7 separate regions of the Homo sapiens genome follow, and all the other regions are linked to region 4. The links are contacts of gene promoters, found by promoter capture Hi-C in blood cells and fetal thymus (Javierre and others, 2016). All regions are on one chromosome and are shown on one strand. Each heading gives the region's core, a stretch centred on a gene start or on the middle of the fragment in contact. The rest is flanking DNA. Distances are from core to core; before and after follow the strand shown.

Evidence for each region. Contacts are between HindIII fragments. The CHiCAGO score rates a contact against its expected background, and 5 or more counts as called.
Region 1: a contact is called between a fragment that was not itself captured here and the fragment with the promoter of RASSF9 in region 4, in 3 of 17 cell types (megakaryocytes, erythroblasts and M1 macrophages). The highest score is 6.9, in megakaryocytes.
Region 2: a fragment that was not itself captured here is called in contact with the fragment with the promoter of RASSF9 in region 4 in 2 of 17 cell types (erythroblasts and megakaryocytes); the score reaches 5.2 in erythroblasts.
Region 3: a fragment that was not itself captured here is called in contact with the fragment with the promoter of RASSF9 in region 4 in 1 of 17 cell types (fetal thymus); the score reaches 6.3 in fetal thymus.
Region 5: a contact is called between a fragment that was not itself captured here and the fragment with the promoter of RASSF9 in region 4, in 2 of 17 cell types (erythroblasts and megakaryocytes). The highest score is 6.5, in erythroblasts.
Region 6: a fragment that was not itself captured here is called in contact with the fragment with the promoter of RASSF9 in region 4 in 1 of 17 cell types (M2 macrophages); the score reaches 5.2 in M2 macrophages.
Region 7: a contact is called between a fragment that was not itself captured here and the fragment with the promoter of RASSF9 in region 4, in 1 of 17 cell types (erythroblasts). The highest score is 6.9, in erythroblasts.

Annotation. Positions count from the first base shown.
Region 1 is chr12:85,476,792-85,480,369 of GRCh38, forward strand. All of the region lies in intron 4 of LINC02820 (long intergenic non-protein coding RNA 2820), which reads left to right. Among named protein-coding and RNA genes, the nearest start is that of LINC02820, 160 kb to the left of the region's middle. The HindIII fragment of the contact is 5,440 bases long and covers 1-3,578 here.
Region 2 is chr12:85,453,234-85,456,400 of GRCh38, forward strand. The region is part of intron 4 of LINC02820 (long intergenic non-protein coding RNA 2820); the gene reads left to right. Among named protein-coding and RNA genes, the nearest start is that of LINC02820, 140 kb to the left of the region's middle. The HindIII fragment of the contact is 806 bases long and covers 906-1,711 here.
Region 3 is chr12:85,417,188-85,420,371 of GRCh38, forward strand. The region is part of intron 3 of LINC02820 (long intergenic non-protein coding RNA 2820); the gene reads left to right. Among named protein-coding and RNA genes, the nearest start is that of LINC02820, 100 kb to the left of the region's middle. The HindIII fragment of the contact is 2,181 bases long and covers 297-2,477 here.
Region 4 is chr12:85,834,944-85,838,353 of GRCh38, forward strand. RASSF9 (Ras association domain family member 9) reads right to left here and starts at 1,466. Exons shown (of 2, transcript NM_005447.4): 1 at 1,212-1,466. The coding sequence starts at 1,258. The HindIII fragment of the contact is 4,697 bases long and covers 1,356-3,410 here.
Region 5 is chr12:85,527,474-85,530,985 of GRCh38, forward strand. No RefSeq gene overlaps it. Among named protein-coding and RNA genes, the nearest start is that of LINC02820, 210 kb to the left of the region's middle. RefSeq lists enhancers at 1-73, 74-573. The HindIII fragment of the contact is 1,939 bases long and covers 796-2,734 here.
Region 6 is chr12:85,434,622-85,437,957 of GRCh38, forward strand. All of the region lies in intron 4 of LINC02820 (long intergenic non-protein coding RNA 2820), which reads left to right. Among named protein-coding and RNA genes, the nearest start is that of LINC02820, 120 kb to the left of the region's middle. The HindIII fragment of the contact is 2,899 bases long and covers 39-2,937 here.
Region 7 is chr12:85,509,465-85,512,739 of GRCh38, forward strand. No RefSeq gene overlaps it. Among named protein-coding and RNA genes, the nearest start is that of LINC02820, 190 kb to the left of the region's middle. The HindIII fragment of the contact is 1,875 bases long and covers 516-2,390 here.

The sequences.
Region 1 (3,578 bases), core at 864-3,363, 360 kb before region 4:
ACTTGAATTCTGGTTTACAGGAACAGAAAGGCAAGGAAGAAACAATGGCTTCAACATTTAGCATATTTTTCTGCATCTAATCTAGATGGTGAAAAGCCATTGTCAAGTATTTTCTCAAATTACACAACTTAAAAAGAAAATGTGATGTCAAGTATTTTCTCAACTGACCCAACTTGAAAATGTGAAAAGTTCATCAATTTTACTTCCTTATTTTTGATATTGATGTGTATGCTATATACAGGGTGGCTGGTCATGAATAAGCTAGATATCAGTTAAGTTAGTGAATAAAATGTCTCAGATTTAGTAAATAATGTTTAAATTTTTGGTACAACCATTTTTACAAAATTTAGCATAAATATTGTTATCATATGGAAGGTTGAATTTTACTTCCTAACTAGATACTTTCCTGAATACACACACACACACACACACACACACACACACACACATGTTTAAACATTAGGTTGGTGCAAAGGTAATGGCAGTTACTGCCATTACTTTTAATACATAACACAGAAAACGAATTTGTAGCAATGTTTTCTTATAGAACTATGTCTTTAATATATTTCTAATTGTACCACTAGATGGAGATATTTATTAGAAAGTTGTCTGCCTCTTAACCCAAAGAACTGCTTGGGTGGGGGGGAAATATTTTTTCCATTATATATTCTTTTGGAAATATGAAAAATAATTAAAATATAAATAAAATATCTAATAAAGTTTTCTGAGTTGATCAACTCATCTAAGAGTGAGAAGACATATGAATATTTAAGCACTATCAAATTTCAGAAATTTTTTTCTATTGCTCTTGAATAAAAAATCTGAAACAATCCTCAGAAATACAATCTGAAAAGTTTTGGTTCCCTGGAACACATGTCTCTTACCAGTGCACAGATAATAGTGTCATGGGTGTCCAGAGTGTATACATTCTATTCTTGAAAAAATACATTCTAAAAAATTACAAAGCCAAATGACAGACTTTAGGAAGATAGATAAGAATGTTTTGTGGAACTTTTGTTAAAAGCATAAGCAGATAATCAGCACAGTTACGAGCAACCTGGCACCATGCTCTTAATGAATGAATGTCTCTGCTAGAGGCACACACTTTGATCTTTTTTCTCAGTCATTTGCATATAATTGCTGCATTTATCATGTGGCCAATAGATATTAAAAACATAATAGAAGGAGATAATGAATGAAATTGGACTGAAATTGCACTTTGTGGTCAAAAGGCCAGTGCTGAGCAAACCTACTTTAATCTAGAAAATGCCTACTGGTCAGAGTTAACTTCATTTGCTCAGTGAAGGACTGATTCTAAACCCATAATGAGTTTACACCCAGTTGAAAAAGAAGATCCTTGCCAAGTTGTATTAGTTCGTTTTCACACTGCTGATAAAGGCATACACAAGACTGGGCAATTTACAAAAGAAAGAGGTTTAATTGGACATACAGTTCCACATGGCTGGGGAAGCCTCACAATCATGGTGGAAGGCAAGGAGGAGCAAGTCCCGTCTTACATGGATGGCAGCAGGCAAAGAGAGAGTGAGGAAGAGGCAAAAGCGGAAACCCCTGGAAAAACCATCAGATCTCGTGACACTCACTCATTACCATGAGAACATTATGGGGTAAACCTCCCCCATGATTCAATTATCTCCTACCAGATCCCTCCCATATCATGTGGGAATTATGGGAGTACATTTCAAGATGAGACTTGAGTGGAGACACAGAGCCAAACCATATCATTCCATCCCTGGCCCCTGCCAAATCTCATGTCCTCACATTTCAAAACCAATCATGCCTTCCCCACAGTCCCCCAAAGTCTTAACTAATTTCAGCATTAACTCAAAAGTCTGCAGTCCAAAGTCTCATCTGAGACAAGGCAAGTCCCTTTCACCTATGAGCCTGTAAAATCAAAAGCAAGCTAGTTATTTCCTAGACACAATGGGGGTACAGGCATTGGGTAAATACAACCGTTCCAGATGGGAGACATTGGCCAAAACAAAGGGGCTACAAGGTCCATGCAAGTCCGAAATCCAGTGGGGCAGTCAAATCTTAAAGCTCCAAAATGACCTCCTTTGACTTCATGTCTCACATCCAGGTCACACTGATGCAAGAGGTGGGTTCCCATGGTCTTGGGCGCCTCTGCCCCTGTGTCTTTGCAGGCTAGAGCCTCTCTCCTGGCTGCTTTCACAGGCTGACATTAAGTGTCTGTGGCTTTTCTAGGTGCATGGTGCAAGCTGTCAGTGGATCTACCATTCTGGGGTCTGGTGAATGGTGGCCCTCTTCTCACAGCTCCACCAGGCAGTGCCCCAGTAGGGACTCTGTGTGGGGGCTTCAACCCCACATTTCCCTTCCACACTGCCCTAGCAGAGGTTCTCCATGAGAGCCCCACTCTTGCAGCAAACTTCTGCCTGGGCATCCAGGCATTTCCATACATCTTCTAAAATCTAGACGGGGGTTCAGAAACCTCAATTATTGACTTCTGGGTACCCACAGGCTCAACACCACGTGAATGCTGCCAAGACTTGGGGCTTGTACCACCTGAAGCCAAGAACCAAGCTCTACATTGGCCCCTTATGGCCATGGCTGGAGCCTCTGGGGCACATGGCATCAAGTCCCTAGGCTCCACATAGCTCAGGGACCCTGGGCCCAGCCTTCAAAACCACTTTTTTTTCCCTAGGCCTCTGGACCTGTGATGGGAGGGGATGCCGTGAAGACTGCTGACATGCCCTGGAGACAGTTTCACAATTGTCGTAGGGATTCACTTTTGGCTGCTTGTTACTTATGCAAATTTCTGCAGCCAGCTTGAATTTCTCCTCAGAAAATGGGATTTTCTTTTCTAACGCATTGTCAGGCTGCAAATTTTTCAAACTTTTATGCTCTGTTTTCCTTTTAAAACTGAATGCTTTTAACAGCACCCAAGTCACCTCGTGAATGCTTTGTTGCTTAGAAATTTATTCCACCAGATACCCTAAATCATCTCTCTCAAGGTCAAAGTTCCACAAATTTCTAGTGCAGGGGCAAAATGCCACCCATCTCTTTGCTAAAACATAGCAAGAGTCATCTTTGCTCCAGTTACCAAAAAGTTCCTCATCTCCCTCTGAGACCATCTCAGCCTCGACCTTATTGCCCATATCACTACCAGCATTTTGGGCAAAGCCATTCAACAAGTCTCTAGGAAGTTCCAAACTTTCCCACATTTTTCTGTCTTCTTCTGAGCCCTCCAAGCTGTTCCAACCTCTGCCTCTTACCCAGTTCCAAAGTTTCTTACACATTTTTGGGTATATTTTCAGCAACACCCCACTCTACTGGTAACAATTTACTGTATTAGTCTGTTTTCACAGTGTTGATAAAGACATACCCAAGACTGGGTGATTTACAAAAGAAAGAGGTTTAATTGGACTTACAGTTCCATGTGGCTGGGAAGCCTTACAATCATGGCAGAAGGCAAGGAGGAGCAAGTCCCGTCATACATGGATGGCAGCAGGCAAAGAGAGAATGAGAAAGATGCAAAAGCAGAAACCCCTGATAAAACCATCAGATCTCGTGAGACTTATTCATTACCATGAGAACAGTAT
Region 2 (3,167 bases), core at 59-2,558, 380 kb before region 4:
TTACTACATAACGTATTTTTTTCTTAATTTTCCCCATATTTTTGACATATAACAAGCTATAGAAAATATGCTGATAATTAAGACCAACATTCAAAATACTACTTACCCAAACTCACAAAGTTAAAATCTGATAGGGCTGAGATACACATCCAGGCTGGACTGGAAGTTCTTGTCCTTGTCACATTGTTACCTATTGCTTTCACGGTACACCTAATTACAATCTTCAGACTGGTTCGTGATTACTAACTCAATTTTTTTAATCTCCCAATCACAACTTTCTTCTGACTTTATGTTCTGACTTTAACTGATTTTTGAATTTGACTACCAATTCTTAGAACACTTTTCGTCTATAAAATAAAAGGTTTAGACTAGATGGAAGTTCAGGCTCCCACTAATTCTAAGATTTTAGGCTTTTGTGTATTTCACATATTTTTCATCTCAAGTAAATATGATCTGATGTTATGTGTAAGAAAGTTTGCTTTGATTTTGTAAATGACCAATAATCTACAAAATGGAAATAATCTACAAAATGGAAAGACCATAAAATCCTTTTATCTAACAATAATGTACACATTCAAGTTAAGTTTTAATAGTAAATATGATGCAATATTCCGATTATTTGAATATTATAATTTATATATATTCTATTATTTAATATATCTAAATCTCTACTCATTCCAGACATTTTAGCTTTTGCTGTATTTTCCAAATTGGGATTTCAGAAATGAGCAATTTCTACCATTAGAATTATAAATAGGTTTAAAACAAATTTATTTAAATAATTTAATACTTTAAAAATTATTTCCAAGCAATTTATCTATGAATGTATTCCTCTCTTTCTTCATGCTTCCTAGCTTCTACCTACGTCCATGAAAGTCTCATTCACTAGTGAAGGGAATTCTGGAAGCTTTTACTTTGTTTCTCTTGCTAGGATAGCCATTTCCTTTGCATTAATTAAATTCAGTTAACTTGTTTTACATTCCACTTGGCTTTAACAGTGAAAGCATTGAGGAATGATATAAGGAAAGGAAGGGTAGATATAAACAAGAAAAACACTCGACAAATGTAATAAAGAATGGACACAATGTTTTGCTGTAATAAATTAAGAGCACTTTAATTTGGGTAGGGAAATTTTGTGGACTCTGTAAGGCACTATGATTTATGGGACTAGGCTGAATGCAAAAATTTATCAGTATCCAAATATCTGGTCAGATTAAAATTGAGAGAGCAGAGATTCAGAAAATAAGAAAGTTGTTGGTTTCTATCCTCACCCTTCTACCTATCACCAAGAGTTCTATCTCTTAAACCTGCTTGAAAATCACTGACTGTCAAAGAAACCCCTTACCCTCATGTTGGAGCAAAAATAAATAGAGACATATTGGTTATTATGCTTCCTCTTCCAACAGAGGGCTGTTATTTTCCAGCATTTCATGAGAATTCATAATTATGTGTATTTTTATAATACATTTAGAGAGAAATGCATTTCAGCCTTTTCTTGACAGCAACTGTACAACTCTCAGATGTCACCTTCTATCTCAATTCGAATATGGAACATGTGAAATTAAACAGTATTGCTGCTAATAGTGCAGTGCTACTTACTGGTAGCCTACTTACTGTTTCTTTTCCTAAGGAAGTCAAATTATTTTTTTAAAGATTAGCAAATGAATAGCAATATAATATAAGAAACTGGCAGAAACCTCAACATGGGGGAAGCTTTTAGAAAAAAAAATTGAATTAGTAGATTTTTAACAATCCTAGTGCCACAGTTACTGCCTTGAATACTGTGATAATGCAAGTATATTGAGCAATTTCAGGCAAAGGGGTTTGATTACAATTCATTTATGGAAAGAAGAGAAGACAGTTACCTCTTGTTTTTCATTTCACAAATGATTTTCATGCTATTTTAAAATGTATAATAGCTTTATAAAATGATTCTCTTTTATTTTTCTGACCCCTTTGTGGCATTCCAGTCTAATAGATTAAGGTGAAACTCAGATAAGTGTCTTCAACGGCCTGCAAAGTAAATGTCACCAAAGATCTAAAATCAAAATGCTATCACTGTAAGTTATAATTTGTGTTTACTTAGTTTCTAAGAATTGATTTTAAAAGGGAGGTTAAGGCATTAATTGCATGTTTCATACTAAACAAGTCAAAGAAAACATAATCTCATAATCTGAAATACTCATGAATGGTACAAGATAAACCTAAAAACAGTATTTTAATTATAGTGCATTTGTCTTCTGTTTCCTCCAAAGATATTGTCTCTGTGCAATCTTCTGATACAACTTTTCTTTCTCAGAGAGGCAATAGCTTTAAATTATAAGCATTTATATTATTTATCTCCTCTGCTGTCTGTGGAGGGTGGGTCTGATGGAAGAATCTCTTCCTTTGCTATATTGAGTGGTGGATAGAAATAATAGAACCCTGGGGAATGGCTTGATAGGTCTACATCAACATGTGAATCATACAGGGGGAAAATTCCAGTGAGAGGAGAGGTAAAATGTAGATTCAGTGTGACCTAAGAATGTGTGCTGAGATAGGGTAGATTTGAGAGTACATGAAGAGTATAAAACTTTTGGAAAGGAAGTAATAACTTAAAGAGTAGTTTTTGACATGTACTATGTGATTTAATTTCATTTTGTGTCTTCTGCAAGAAATAATCAGTAAAAGATTGCATTATTTTTAAGATGTCTTGGAAATGGATGTCTAGAACTTTTAGATGAGATGGTGGGCTGAGATGGGTCTTAATGCAGGAGAATGTCAGCATTTTGTTGTGCTTACACAGCTTTCCATAACTCATTTATAAACCTGACTCCTTTCTGGTCTGCCTCTTACAACTTTGTATGCCTTCCACCTTCCCAATTTATCTCTTTGACTCTCAGGTGCCTTCCCCTCTTACCTCAAGTATCCAGGGAAAAGATTAAATGAAAATCACACCACCAACTTTCAGCCATTCTTACCTCCTAAATATTTCTGTTTCTGAAATATGTGGTTTCAACACATGCAACCTGTTTTCTTTTACTCTTGTGTTTATATTAACTCTATAAGTCCTAAAGACCAATTTTAATTATTAGTATTTTGTAGCATTTGATACCATCTACTTTCTCATGTTCTTGAAATTCATCCAGCATTTGGCACTGATACGGGAGGCGGGCAGGGAAGTGCTG
Region 3 (3,184 bases), core at 137-2,636, 420 kb before region 4:
AAAGACCAAGCTCATGAGGAATTACAGCCACATATAACAATTTTCCAGTGTCTGTTTTGTTTGTAACCTTTATTATAATAATTGATAGTTAAAAGAATGAAAGTCATATTTCAAAAATCACAGTAACAGAAAGATTTTAATCCTCCAATGCAATTGTCAATAAAGAATTGACAAATTAAGACCTGATTTTTAAAAATGCATTCTTAATTTTTTAGGTGTTCTTAATTTCTTAGAAACTTTAATTGATATATATATCTCTCAATTAAATGGGCATCATTAACAAAATAATAAAGCAAAGCTTCCATTGGAAGGTAGCATGTGGGATACCCAATGAAAATAAATTTTGGTTAAGATTGAATTCCAGTAAGAAATTTATCAGGGATTTTGCAAACTTTAGGACTAGAGGAAAAATTCCCTATTGAATGTTTCTGAAAAGGTCTCTTTTCTGTGTCATGTGGTCAAAGAATTTTGTATGAGTAATGAATTTGGTCTTGTAGATTTTTGGATAAATCCTTAAGAAAAAAGCCAACAAGTCTTGCCCTCCCTCTGTGAGATCAAAGACACCACTGTGTTTTTGGTATGAAAAAGGTTTCCCCATGGTTGCCAAAAATATGCTGTTTCCCCATCAGCTGTGTAGCGGCCATGAAATGATTGACGGCCCTTGCAGTTTCTCCAGGGTGGTTCAATTTCAAGTTGAAGGTAGTGCTGAATTTGAAAAGTATTTTGAGTCCCTTTTGAATAAAAATTACAACAGGACAAAAATACTTCTTCCTTTCAGCTGACAGTCAATGACATCCACTTAGTAAGGTGTTACTGTAGTACGAAGTGGCCCTTTGTGAATACGTGGGATAAATTTCCATCTATGCAAGGCCAAAGTACTCAGTTGTGATGATTTACCTTTTTTTCCATAATAAAATTTAATAGAGAAAAAATAATTTGAGATGAAGACTGAATTCTTTAAATGCTTTCACAGAAACAAATTTTTGAAAAATTTCTTGTGAGAAAAAATATAACAATGTTATTGATACATAATTATCTTATTGTAAACTCTTTAAATAATAAAAATCTGTTATCACATGATTTTAGAGGTACTAAAGTTTGAAACATATACTCTCTAAATATAATAAATTATCAGAGAACTCTGGCATAAAATGAATAATGACAAAAGGGTGTTAGTCATATCCTATCAAGGAATCTCACAATATATAAACCCCACTTTGATACCACATATGTGAGAAAAATTTTGAGAATCCATGTGCTTGTAGTTTAGCATACTTTTTAAAAACTTCAATGTATCCACTACGTTACAAAATTGAAAACTTAAAAATAAATTGGTAAAAAATAAATGTTAACAAAAATTGATTAAAATTCCTCTCAGTTATTTGTGGGAGAAAGGAAGGATGTACAAATCATTAAGTCTTTCTGAAAAGAGCATGCCCTTTGAGCTGCTTAATGTATACGAGAATGGAGAGTCCAGTTGCCTTAAAAAAAATTCCAGAAAACATCCTCTTTTAGGAACTACCTGGTTTTTACACGAGTGTTTACAACCTTGAGATTTGTAGTATTCCTTAGCTTTCCCTTGAATCTCAGGTCCAAATCAATGAAACAATGTGAAATAAAACACTTAGGCACTTTATGATCCAAATCATAAAACTAAGGATATGAGATGTTGAATAATTAGAACTAATTGGTGACTGCAAACAGAGATCAAATTCACCAGAAAGCTGCATGACTTTTTCTTTAGTTCATAGGCACTGTTTAAGATCAGAGGTTTAAAAAAAAAGGTTGCATGTTGTGTTAATTGATTCAGGAATATGTTTTCTGCTCACTTTTGATGCTATAAAATGAAATGGAACAGTCTGGAATGCATACTGAAACAAGGGGTTACATGGGTGTGGCAGCTTCACAGCCTACACTCGTTTGTTGTTTGCCGGTAAGCATTCATTTGTTCAACTTCTGATATTTGGGCCTTGTTCCAAGAGTATTTTTGAGAAAACGTAAAAGTTCTGTGTGAAGTGGATGAAGTACTCTTTTAACTTTTGAGTATTCATTGTCTCAAATATTTATATATTCCATTAATTCTATTTCACCCATTTTTTTCCAAGTTACTCTTTAATGTCTCCACTTCAATTTGAATGTATCTAGTTCTAAATATTCTGCAGCTTACAGGGGACACTTATGTCTATATTCTGCAATGTCTTGTTACTTTTTAAAGTCTATTATATACAGATAATTCATTTTAATTATTTTATTAAACAAAATAGCAAATTTTTTAAGTGAAATTTTTGAAGACATTAAAAAACCCACAGTAAATCTCAAAGTCCATTTAAGTAATTATAATGTGATTGACAAATGATGCTGCCTATAGTAATAATGTAGGTATATATGTACACATGCATCTTTTTCAAAAGTGAAAATTTGATAGACATCTTCTTTCTTCTAATTCCTGCTTTGCAAATATCCCGGATCTGAAAACAAGCTTATACTTTATACCAGAATGATCTGAAACAGAGAAAAAAGCCATGCTCTTGGCAGAAATATGTGAAGTGAACTTAAATTGTTAGATTTTTAAAATATTTGAATGATGGTTATCTATGGTGGGTCTCTTCTGATATTTGAGCTTTTCTTATTACTGCTTGAATCATTATCAAGAAATTCATTTTTTCAAGATTTCTCTAAATTAGGAAGCTTTATTCCCTATTTATGCACCTATTATGCACCTATTATGAAATTAAATTATTCCATTGACAACAACCAAAATTAATAAACTAGAGGCTTTTACTGTTAACTGTGTATTTATCTTTAGACTAATGCTATTATTTGAGAGTTAGATGTTAATAAAATCTATGTAGTATTAGTGAAATAACTTATTAACAAGTTTAGAATATGCTAAGTGAAACTCAACCCGTTTTATGTTTACATTCCTAAAGCTTTGATTAAATCCTAATACATATCATCCAGCTGCACTGAATTCATCTGATGCAAACACTTGATAATTGTTCACCTTATACCCTTATCATCTATACACATTCTCTAGCACTCTCTCTTTGAAAAAATAAACTCAAATACCAAAGTAAAAAAAAAAAATTACACAGCAGTCTGAACTCTGAATACAAAAATAGCAATCTTTGAAAATAAAAACAGAAACCTCTAAAATAATGTTTTATTTATCACATACAAACAT
Region 4 (3,410 bases), core at 216-2,715:
TGTCAAATTATTAGAAAATAAAGCTTACTTAGAAACTTTTACAGTATTTATTAAGGCCATTTACTTTCTAAAGGAAATTTTGTCACCTAAATCATGAATACATTTGGAATGAGTTAAAAACAGGATTTTCAAAGTAGACATGTGTGCGCAAAATAAAGTATGGAGATTTACTTTAAAGTTGTATTACTCTATATTGTCATGTAGACACTTTAAAATAATTATATCATTTCCTACCATGTAATTGTATCCTTTTGAATCTGCACTGAGCAAATTATGACAAGTACAAACAGGCATGATTGAGAGAAAAGTGGTGGACAATCCCCTATGCCAAAATAAATATATTTTTAAAAAAATATAGCCCATGTCTAAATTTATTCTCAAGTTTTTGGCATGAAAACGTAACATTTGATGTGTAAATAAAATATTTAATAAGACTAAGACAGACATACTGTCCCTAGAAAAATACGTGTGTGTATGTGTGTTTTGAGTAACTTATTTATACTATGGGCATTTCAAGCTTGAAATATCAAATCAAATCAAAGTAAAACAGTAATAATAAGGATTAGAGAGGATAGCTGCTTGAATCCTTCTTTAGTGCTTAAAACTACCTAAAATTCTCAAAGATTTTTTAAAGAATCAATTCAAACAAAGTTTCTCTCCAGAGTGTTTCCACTTTGGGAACATTCCAGGTTTCAGGAATGCCTCACTCTCAGGGGAGCCAAAGCATTGTTTCTGAATTGTATCAGCAGTTTTATTTTTCATCCTACTTAGTGGCTATAAATACTAGTTACATCTTTATCAAAGTTTTAATTATTTCTACAATATTCTAAAGTTCTGTTGAAACAAAATGACACTTTTTATTGTACTACCCTCAAATGCCCAGGGCAACAAAAAAAGAAACTGTTTATGTTGCTAGTTGTGGAAACAGGACTGGTCAAAAGGGGAGAAAGGAGTCAAATATAATCACTCTTTATTCTCTGCGATCCTTGAGCTGGTCACTCCCATCATCAATACTGGGAGAATATCCTTACTATCTAGGTATTCATACTAGCCTAACTCCTTAGGCTAGGACTGTGTCCCCACGAAGCCTTTTTTTATCAGAATCTAACAACCACAAAACACATACTTTCACAGGTAGGGTCCAGAGTACACACACAAGACACACACACACACAGAGACACACACACACTTACTCACACGCTTGACTTTACCTGTTTTTATGCCGAGTCTTTAGCAAGTTTCTTCCAAAGGGAGCCATGGTCTGTCGGGCAAACGAATAAAGAAATTATCTTAAAGTGATCTGAGGGTGGGGGTGGGGGTGTCTGGATTTCCAGGGTGAAGGGAGGAGGGCTGGAAGCTTTCTCTTCTCCTCGGATGTTCCTGGCTTTCAGCTCATTAGTAGCCGGCTGAGAAAGTTGCTGGAAGTTGTGCAACTGCTGCTTAACTTTGAACTGCGGGATTGTTGTGGCTGCTGCACCTCTGGAGACCTGCCCAGCTTCAGCCTCGAAGAAGGCGTTTGGAAGCAGGAAAAGAAAAAAAAAAAAGAAAGAGAGAGAGAGGAAGGGAGGAGGACTCTATTGTGTTCTGTAGTTATTTGCAGACTTAAAGAACTGCCAACCCCACAAGCATGGTAATACCAATGGAACGGGAGTTTCACTCGATCTGGAAATCCCCCCTCCCCCGCTTTCCACACCCAACCACACAAGGTGTACTGAACACACATAAAAGGATTAAAAGTAAATATCCCCCAACTCCTGGTCAGCTCCAGTCTGTGAAAAGTCATCTGATCATGGCAAGCATGAGGGATTGCTGAGAACTCTCTTTGCCAACTCATTCGACCCCAGATCCCCTGCCAGGGTGTCAGGACTTTAAAATATATTAGGGAGAGGGAAGCTGGAAACCGGATCAAGGTGGACTCACAGACCACTTAGAATTGTTAAGTCCCTGAGTTCACGGTCTTAAGAGTTTCTTCCAGGCCCCTGCTCCACACTCTCAAGTTCATCTTGCAAAAGTCGAAGGACCTGAAGGACCACAGGGCTCCAGGGCTGATGCATCACAGTTTGGTCTAGGAACCAGCTGGAGTTTAGTGTTTGACTCCCAAGGCGTTTATGTTGACCCCTACCCCATCTTTGACATTCACTGGGCCTTTAGAGCCCTGGGAATTTCAGAGGAAAAGCAAACTGCTCCTGCCCCTCAAGGAGTAAAGAAGACACACCGAGGGGATCTGCTGGAGCTCGAAATGTGAAGTGGAAGTCTAAGGGAGGGAGGGCTTCATCTGGTCCCAGGAGAGCTCGAATCCAGAAGCAGGGCAGAGGAATGGAGATGGGAGAGTTCGGGTGCCTGTGGGAGGCCCAGCGCAGCTCCCACCAGGTACCTGGCACTCATGGGAAAGCACTATTTAGGGGCAAGGGCCAGGAGAGCTTTCTCATGGACGTGTTTTACTGGGATTTTGCCCCTCCTAAAACCACCCCACCACCCTCCACCCCGCCAGGCTTCTAATCATGGGCTTCCCAGGCAGACGATGAGGGAGGGAGGGAAAGGAAAGCCAACAAACTTGTGAGTTCTTTCTGAGCCTTGGCAAAGAATATGAATCGCTCCTACTTACTTTGGGAGTTTATCCCCTACCCCCAACAACACCAAACAAAAAAATAATCTCAAGGTCTTCCATGATTCTGATACACACTGATTTATGCAGTGCTCAGATAAATCATGTTTTTCATTATTTATTATCATAATCTTTCTCTATTCATCTATATTTCATGTTTCTGTATGTGCATATACACATGTGTCCTATACTATTTCATTATTTATAATATTTTCTTTATAATTTTATATAATAAATCATATATTATATCCATATATGCACCCAAATCATTATGAAGTGAAAAACATTACAATAGCCAATGTTAAAGTTTAGTTACCTTTTTATATCCCTGGGAGTTAGGATAACTAAAAAATACATACCCATCTTAATTTGATATGGTCAGTGATTCCAGAGAAAATCAAGACACCAAAAATAGTAATGACATGTTCTGTGTATATATATGTATATATGTACACATATATACATGTATAAACATCTGTATAAACATCTTCATCTTTGTAAACATAAGTATATATATGTGTGTGTATATATATATATGTATTACATGCTATGTATATATGCACTTCACATGCAACATAAGCTACATAATCTTGGGTGTATTTCTGTTTCCGTTCTTGATTTTGTTTTACTAGCACCTCACAAGAAATGATTTAAACTATTATGGAAGTTTACCTAGTTATTCTAAGTTCTTCAAAATGTAATCCCTTAAAGCTATACTGTTTACTTATTAATATAATTGTTGCAGTCAATTTGCAAATAATTTCACATTTGCAAATATCCCTGTTTCCTTTAGTTTCGGTTCTCC
Region 5 (3,512 bases), core at 515-3,014, 310 kb before region 4:
GGCCCTGAGACCTAGGAGGGAAGAATGGTTTGGCCGGCCAGGCCCAGGGTCCCATTGCCCTGCCAGCCTCTGGACACTGCTTCCCACATCCCAGCTGCTCCAGCTCCAGTCAGAGCTCAAAGGGGTCCAGTTACAGCTCAAATTGCCACTTTGGAGAATGCAAACCATAAGCCTTGGTGGCTTCCATATGGTTTTAAGCCTGAGTGAGTTGAGGCTTAGGACCCTCCACTTAAATTTCAGTGAATGTATGGAAGAATCTGAGGGTCCAGGCAGAAGCCTGCTGCAGGGACAGAGTCCTCACAGAGAACCTTTAGTAGGGCAATGCCAAGGGGAAATGTGGGGTTAGAGCCCCCACACAGAGCCCTCACTGGAGCATTGTCTAGTGGAGCTGTGAGAAAGGGGCCACCACCCTCCAGATGTGAGAATGGTAGATCCACTGGAAGCTTGCCCTCTGCACTTGGAAAAGCCACAGGCACTCAACAACCAGTGAAAGCAGGGACTGCACTTTTCAAAGCCATAGGTGCAGATCTTTCAGGTATGAACTAGTTTTTTTTTCTTATATATATCATTAAGTCTGCACAAAAATTCCCACTGTGGAATGACTAGTAATCCCCCAATTATACAAATGGGGAAAAACATACAAGGAAGTTAACTGCTCAAGATCACTAAAAAGTTAAGAGCTGAGATTTGAACCCTGGTTTGCCTGATTGCAAAGCCTGTGAGATCTCTTAATCATGATACTTCACTACAAACTATATCTGTATTAATTTTAATTCATAAGAATGAGTTAAAATAAGCTTCATGTCATTTCTCTATTAGTAAGTCATAACTCAATGTGGAAGTGTGATCTCCTAATAGACTCTGAGAGAACCAAACCCATTCTTTCTTAAAGCAGTCTGCATTGAAAAGCATTCTTACACATGGTCCTGTGAAGATCTTTTTGCCACACGTATGTACAAAACAGCAAACTCATTCCTTTAGCATTTATCAGACTGTTGTAACAATAAAGATCTGTGGTTATCTTATTCACATGTTTCTTCTTTTTTAAGTTAAATTTAAGCCAGGTGTAGTATTTTGAATTGCTGCCCATCACAAAGCCTGACCCTTGGAAGTTTCTGTACCTAGTCCCTTAAGGGGCGCAGGCATAGGCTCTGCCTCTGACTCCAGGTTTACAGGAATTTGATCACATACTGCTTCAAATGAAAACAAGCACAGCAGAGCTGCATGATTGGGGTGAGATCTACCTTGGTTCAAGTCAGATCTTTTCTGTGAAAAATCACTGTGATTTTAAGCAAATTTCTTCATCTCTCTAAGATCATCATCTTTCTCATTTATATAAACAAAATCTAATATATACCTTGCAGGGTTTTTGTGCAATTAACAGTAACAGAGATAATACACCTAGCATTCTCCTTTGAATATATTATAGAATCATATTTATCTTCCCTACCCCTATTTTAGTGATAACAGAGAAAAGGGCTTTTTTTCTTTAAAACATTTTCCCCCATACACACTGCAAACCACTGAGGCTTCTGTCTTCTTGTCTCTTAAACCTTAAGTTGGAGCACAAAATAAATATCGCTGTTAGGTAGAAATGAATTTGTGGGAAAGAGGCAAAATGATATAAAAATCTGATTGCTAAGAGTGGACTACATAAATTGCACAATTATTTGTTGTTTGATTAATGCCAGTCATTTATTGCCCCATTAAACTCTAGACCTCCAAGCAAAATCTGGAGAAGAGAAATCAGTTAATTGAGTAGATATTTATTTTAAAAAAAAGGTTTAGGAGGAAACACAATTAAAGAAGAAAACAATGAGTTGTAAACTCTGTGACAATAGGATTTCCATCATACTCCTTATGAACAAGACTTGGCTTGAAAAATGTGTCCGTTTTTTTTTCCCCAATCCTGTCAATCTCAAGATGATTTGCCTTAAAATGTTGTATTTCCCTTTAGCTACAAAAAGTTTCTTTTTATTTTTTTTGAGACAGGTTTTCGCTTGTCACCCTTTCACCCGTGCCAGAGTACAGTGGCACAGTCACATCATCTGACTACAGTCTCGACCTCCTGGCCTCAGTGCCATCCTCCCATCTCAACACTTCACCTCCCCCACCAGTCCCAAGTAGCTGGCACTACAGGCACACTCCACCACACTCAGCTAATTTTTTATTTTATTTTTATTTTTAGATACAGGGTCTCACTATGTTACCCAGACTGGTCTTAAATTCACGAGCTCAAGCAATGCTCCCACCTCGGCCTCCCAAAGTGTTGGGATTAAGGTGTGAGTCACTGTGACTGGTCTAAGTTATTCTTTGTAAGATTTTTCTTTCATGAAATTTAAATATGAGAATATATCACACTTTTAAAAGATTTTTAATAAAATATTTCTTTTGTAAGAAGTAATTTCATGTATAATTTAACACCCACTTACCTCTCAAAAAAGAATCAAAGGCATTTAGGATCATCATGAACCTGCTCATCTTAAAATATGACTAATTAGTTTAACATTATGCTTCAGGTTTTTCTTTAAATGACTCTGGAAAAGACCTTAACTGTGTATTTTCCATCCAAGTGAACTTTGAAAACAATGTAAATTGCAGTGGGTATAATAAAAGCATTTTGTTGATAATTTGACCTCACTACTGAAAAGAATGAGGAAGTTACTTTTCTTTTTATTCCTGTCACCAGGACTACAATTATATTTTTAAAAATAATTTCTTTAAAAAGGTACAAAGCTTTTATTGCTTAACATTTTGAAAGATAATTTAATTGTGGACTTAGATCTTGAGAAATTGTCAGACGCCAACTACCAAGTTTTTCAGTGAGGAGTGAAACCACGGGTGATATAACCACTTTTCTCCATTTCCAGATGGAGGGGTGGGTGTTAGGAGCTTTATTCTAGAGGGACCCTGACTGAGAGTAGGTCCAGGTTCCCAGAATACCTGATCTCTTGTCAAATTGTAGCCTGGTGATTATCTATTGTTCCCTTCACAGATACTCCTAAAAGAGTCTGTCTGTTGAGAGCAACCTTTCAGATTGAGGGATGTTCCATTGTTTCATAAATTGTAACCTTTGACTAGATGGTTATTCTACTTTCAGAGTAACTAGTAGAATTGTACCTTCAAACTCATAGCTCTTTCTTCCCTGGCCACAGGGCCACCTCCCCTTAAATAAAGGTAGGGGCAAGTTCAGAGTCCTTCTCAGCCTACTCACAGTGCCTGCTAACTCGCTTGTTGCCGTCTGGGGCCCCAGGGGCTCCGAGTGGCATAGTGTGGAAGTCACTAAGCATGTTCTTCGGCCTTTTTCTATTTATTTTATTGTATCCTTTTTGAAATTTATTTCAGACCCATCCATGAAAGTCAGTCTCCTTCTTCAGGGAATGTCCTTTCAAAAGGCAAAGTTGGCCTCTACATAAAAAATAATAAATTCTAATATTAAAGACATTTAATGGAAATATTAGATGATATTTCCCTTAATGTTTCTTTATCATGATTGGTATGATTAATTCATG
Region 6 (3,336 bases), core at 238-2,737, 400 kb before region 4:
TGTGACAATTTTTTCTGAACTGATTTGATCTATAATAAAGCTTCAATTTGTATTCTAACTCTGAGGTTTTGAGTTCATTTGAATGTCATTTAAATTGTCTCTGTAGTCTCCACTTTGCATGAACCCTCCTTCTAATGACAGGCAAAATAGGAAAATGCAATATACATAGGTAATAGTTTTCCAAACATTTGGGGGAAAAGGTGTGTTATCAGTGACAACATGACTTTTTAGTAGTTTGCCCTCAGTCCTCCAATCTCATAACTTTTCTTTACCTCAAATAATATGTGTATTAGTCAGGGTTCTTCAGAGAGACAGAATCCATAGGGGATGGATGGATGGATGGATGGATGGATGGATGGATGGATGGATGGATAGATAGATAGATGAAACAGGATTTATTAGAGAATTGCCTCACATGATTATGGAGCATGATAAGTCCCACAATAAGCTGTCTGCAAGCTGGAGAACCAGGGAAGACAGTGGCATAGCTAACGCAAGTCTGAGAGCCTGACCACCAGGGAAACCGATAGTGTTACTCTTAGACAAAGACTGAAGGCCTGAGAACATGGAGGGCCACTGGTGCAAATCTTAGAGTCCAAAGTTCAGAGAACCTGGAGTTCTGATGTCCAAAGGTAGGAGAAGAGGTTTCCCAGCTCCAGAAGAGAAAGAAGAGAGAGCGAGAGCGAGACAGAGAGAGAGAAATTCTCCTTTCCTTTGCCTTTTGTTCTATCTGGGCCCTAATTCAATTGGATAGTTCCTGTCCACATTGTCCACATGGGGTGAGGGTAGATCTTATTTACTTAGTCCACCGATTCAAATGCTAATCTCTACTGGAAACACCCTCATAGACCCAGAAATGATGTTTTATCAGCTACCTAGGTATGGCTTAATCCAGTCAAGTTGACATCTAAAATTAACCATCACAATACAGTTTATCCAGAAGAAAATCATCATAGTGATTATATTGTTTCCTTACAAGCAAAGTTTATTATAAATAGAGGTCAGGCCATGCATGGTGGCTCACGCCTGTAATTCCAGCACTTTGGAGGCTGAGGCAGGTGGATTACACCACTGCACTCCAGCCTGGGCAACAGAGCTACTGCGCCCGGCCAGGAGAATCTCTTGAACCCAGGAGGCAGAGGTTGGCCACTGCACTCCAGCCTGGGTGACAGAGCAACACTGTCTTACACAAAAAATAAATTAAATAAATAAATAAATTGATCAAAGAGATATACTTTACATAGGAAATTGCTGATCATCAAAACATTTCTTTAAAGGAAGCTCACCAAGCACTCTGCTCAATCCCTACCTTTATTACCACATTAGTATATTTCATCTTAACAGCATCTCCAAAATCTTGCCAATATTCTCCCACTAAGCTCATTCTCCATCACGAACTCTGTTTTATTCTCTTTTCAGCGCTTAACAACTGTCTGACATTTTATGTAGTCATTTGCTTACTTTTTACTGTTTGTCTACATCTACTTCATTCTAGCTGTTTTCCTAATGACAGTTCACTATGTTTTTCTATTTTCTTTATCAAATTTTTCCTGTTATAAGAAGAAATACAAATTATCCTCAAAGACAGTTTAAGGTGGAATACAAATTAAGAAATTACCTATAAGCAAATTTTAAAATTGAATAAATTATAATCACATTATAATAGTCCCTATACCATTTTGCTATCTTGTTTACAGCTCTATTCCTAGGGTAAAGAATAGTGACTGTCACATGGTAAGACATTCAATGAATATTTCTGGAATGAGTGAGTGAATTTATTAGATAAGCAAAAAAAGATGACTCTGCTGTCTAGAGACAGGTCTGTGATGGAAATAAAAATTTCCTGAGTTTTCAAACTCATATACTTTCCTTATGTCAATCTGCCACTGAACTTAATTTTGAATAAGAAAGAACTGATTGGTGAGGTAGAATTTAGCGAATTTTCAGGGAAAATTACAGTGTCATATAAGTTGACATTAACCAAAGAATTCCTAATCAGCAATAAATATCTATTTTTAGAAAATAGGATTTCCAGAATGTTCAGATAAATTTGAACAGGGCTTGAGGCTCTAAAAAAGAAGATGTTTGAAAAGAGATGAGAAGACCTCAAAAATGCAATTATTGTATTTATGTTCTCAAATTAGTACTACGTTATACACTTATTTCTCTCGGTTATATATTAAATTTGATTACTTCTTTGTTCTCATTATATTTTAACCTGATTTGATCTTTCTATGTTCCCCACAGCAAGTATTCCATTGTATACAATAAGCATTAAATAGTCACTGAATAGAATCAGATGATTTAAATCAGAAGAAAAATAGATACATTTAAGCAAACAAATATTTCTCTACAATTAGATTATAATTCATTTGGATTTTCAAAGGGCTTATCTAGGAGATACAATGAAGTGGATACATACTTAAAATGTGTATATAATGAATAATGAAGAATTAGAATAATTAGTTCATATTTTTCTTACCTATCCCATTGAGCATTACTCCTGTCTTCTTGAAATAGTAAAAAGTAGGGAAAATGTAAATTTAAAATTTTTAAATATAATTGATGAAGAATTTGTTGGAAAAACATTAGAGGGCACCATTACAAAAATTCAAGTCTCCTAGAACAGATGTGTCATATTCTGAAATGTGATTCAGGTATTTGCAAATTATTAATGAGACATCATGGAAAGTTAGAGCTATCTTGAAAGAAAGCTAGGGACAGAAAAATGTCCAAATTAACAAAAGGGAGAAGAGTTTATGTCAGTGACATTTAGTGTTACATATCTGATGTCAATTCTTTTTTTGGGGGGGTAGGGGGCCGACTCCAGAGTACATGTTAAAATAACCATGTTTATTCGATGCAAAAATTTGGTAATGGTGAAGTATTCTAGTTCTTTTCTGATTATCCCAATTCCCATAGTTTTTTCTTCACAGAAGCTTTATTTGTAGCAGCCAAACACTAGAAATTCTCCAAATATCCATCCACAGGAGAGTAGATAAATTGTGGTGTGTTCATACAATGAAAAACTACTCGGCAATAAAAGAACAAACTAATGATGCCCACAACAACTTATACAGTCTCATAAGTGTTGTGTAAAGTGAAAGATGCATTAAGAGTACATAAGATATTATTCCATTTCTGTGAATTTCAAAAACAGGCAGCTCTAATCTATGTGAATAGAAATGAAAATAGTGGTTGCCTCTCGGCAGGGGAACTAACTGGAAGAGGCATGAGGACACTTCTTGTGGTGATGGAGATGTTTTATACATACATATATATATATATATATATATATATATATATATATATAGTTTAATTTTAGTTTTAGGGATA
Region 7 (3,275 bases), core at 203-2,702, 330 kb before region 4:
TTTGAATTTTATTCCCGCTTTCGCCACCCTTTGTTCAGTCCACCAAGGATCCTGGCAGGTTACAAGAAAAGTAGGAGAAAAATCTGGAGGAAGGATGTGGAGTCTCAGAAACCAAGTTAAGAGTGTGGTGGAGCCAGAAAAAGGCCAGTTGAGATAAGAGGAATCTGAAAGAATGGTGTACCACAGAGGCTAACTGGAGACCAAGGAAGTGGTCAACATGGTAAGATAATGCTGATGGTCTGGATAAATAGGATCAAATATTGTCCATCAAATTTATCAATATGGAGATCACTGATGACCTGCTTTGTTGGAATGGTGGTGCTAAATACTATTTGGAATGAGTCAGTGGAGAATGGGATGTGTATTAATGTTCTAGTACTGTGAAATAAACTACCATAAACTTAGTGGTTAAAAAACAACACCTATTTATTAGCTCAGAGTCTGGGTCAGAATTGTGGCACAGCAGGACTGTCAGCCACTCTGTGTTCTCATGTGGAGCTTGTGGTCTTCTTTTAAGCTTGCATGGTTGTGGCAAGATTCACTTCCTCGTGGTGGTTATGGGCGGTCCCTGTTTCCTTGCTGGCTGTCAGGTGGGAAATACTCTCACCTTCTGGAGGCAACCCACATTCCCTAGCATGTGGTTTTGTCCATTTGCAAAGCCAGCAATGGAAAATCTCCCTCATGTAAAATCTCTCATACTTGAATTTCTGACTTCCTCTTTTATGAAAAGCTGGGAAAAAACTGCATTTACCTGGATGTTCTATTTTAAGATTAACGGTGCCACATAACAAAACCTAATCACAGAAATAAATTCACCCTATTTGTGGTCCCAGGGATTATAGAGGTTTTGTACATCAAGAGGACGGGGAAAACTTTTGGGGGTTTTCTTAGAATTATGCCTACCACAGTAAAACTGAAGATGGGTAGTATAGACTGCTTTTTGAGTGACTTGTTTTGCCAATAAGACAGCAGAACAATAGGGCAATAACTCAAAGGAAAATGGGATCAAAAAAGGATAGTTTTAATATGTAAGACATTTTAAAAATATCTGTATGCTGATAAGAATAATTCTCCCCCAGACAGAACATCTGATATGTCTTGAGAGGAGTGAGCTGCTTGAATAATATCTATTTTTGAGTAGGTCAGGATGAATGGGATCTCTGGCACATGTGTAGATGTCGATCTTAATCAGGAGAGTAGAAAAAACAGATTCTTTGCAGTAAAGAAAGAATTCAGTAGTTATTTTGCTCAAAGCTACCAGAAAATTTCTTCTGTTGCTTCTTTTGTTCTCCTGCGTCAGTGAAATAAAAAGATTTATGAGTGAACTGTAAGGATGGGAGAAATGGTGACAGAGATTTGAGGACAATGTATAAGGACTTGGAATGGAATATATACAAGCCAACATATAATCACGAAGAAAATTTTACAAAGGATTTTTTTTTCACAAAGAGATCAAATTATTTGTGCTGTAGAAATAAGTTTTATAGTTTTAAGAAAAGAATAATGGAAGAGGAAAAAGAGAGGAAGGAATGCAGGGACGCCTATGCATTTACTTGAGTGAGTGTTATTTTTCAATCACATTATTAGTGCTATGAGAATAAATAAAATACAGTCCTAGCATTAAAGGTTAAGAAGGGTCTTGTAAATTTTTATGAAAATACATATTTATGTGGATAAAATAACAAGAAGAGATATGAAGGATGACAAAAGGGCTTAACCTGCCTAGAAGACATCATAGAAAAGTAACATTTGAGATACATAGTTCTTAAGAGAAAAACAGAGAATGTTTTTCTAACAAAATAGATAGTATTACATATAGTTCTCCTTAATTCTGATGAAAAAATAATCTTTGGGGGGAGATAATACAATAGAGAAATAGTGTAGAGTAAAATAGTATGAATCAGGATAAAATCCAAGACCTGTAGGTGCAATGATGGCTTCAGTTGTAGGCCAACCAGTGAATGATATTCCTCATTTAAAATGTCCATTCTGGTCTCAAATAGAATATTCCTAAAGTGTGCCCTTCAAAAGAACTTACCTAATTGTTTTTATATTAACCTAATTATCATCATCATCAGGATAATAATAATTTAATTAACTAACTACAACTATTAATATTTCATGATTGTTTTAGTAAGACTCAGACTTTTTTAATAAGATTCAGGCATTTCAGATCATGTAAAATAAGCAAAAAATATTCTGTAGCAAAGTATTTGTAGCTAAAAGGCCAATGAACACATTTGCTCTTGCTCCAAAATGTTGTAACCTATCTGCTTGATGCTTTACATTTTAAAATATTAACAATTTATATAGGTTGTTTTTCTTGTGAACTAAGGTAACTGACATGCCAACAGAAAATGGTAATTTCTTTCATATCACTTGTACCTGTAAGCTTATTGTCTATTTGATAGTATTTATTTTAAAAATCTTAGTTGATGTTTACAATTAGACAATAGATTTTTGTTAAACACTTTATAGACACTATATAACCTATTTATATTCTTGAATTTTATTAGAAAAGGTAATACTAAAAATAACCACAATTTATATAAACCACCAATAACTTTATTATTTCTCCTATTCATTGAGCTCTTAAATAAAAACAACATTCAGAGTAATTTCAGCACCCTTGAATTTTCTATCTTTGAACCAGAAAAAGATATCCAGGTTTGATTTCTGACTTTTAGTTCTAGATAATAGTATAATATTGAAAAAAAAAAGTCAAATAATTATCACTGCAAAATTAGGCTTGTAATTCTAATAGTTCAGAAAATAAGACTATCATGATTACTTTTCTCTATTGTAATGGCTGACTTGTGAGACAAAACAGGTATAAAAAAAGCTGTAAATCCCGTTCTCACGTATTCTTTTTTCCCACAAAATTTCATTTTCAAATAAGAATATATAAGTGTATAACATATACATACCATTTTTATTTAAAGAAAAAATTAGTAGCCTGATTTTTTTTTCTAGAATGAGATTCATGCAAAGGGCATCAGCAAAATTTGTGAATAACTAATTAGAGATTTTAGTCATTTCTTTGAAAAGAAAATGATTAAACTAATTAACAGCTATAACTAAGACCACCATTTACTAGAAATAATAAAATTTTTAAACATTTTAACATTTTATATAAAATAATTATAAAATTTAGTCTAAGTAAAATGTAGTACATGTGATTTCTATAATAGTTCAGGAAATAATACCTGAAAATAGCTCATGCCAAATTAAAATAGATATACATGTATGTATGTATGTGATAAATGTCTATGTGT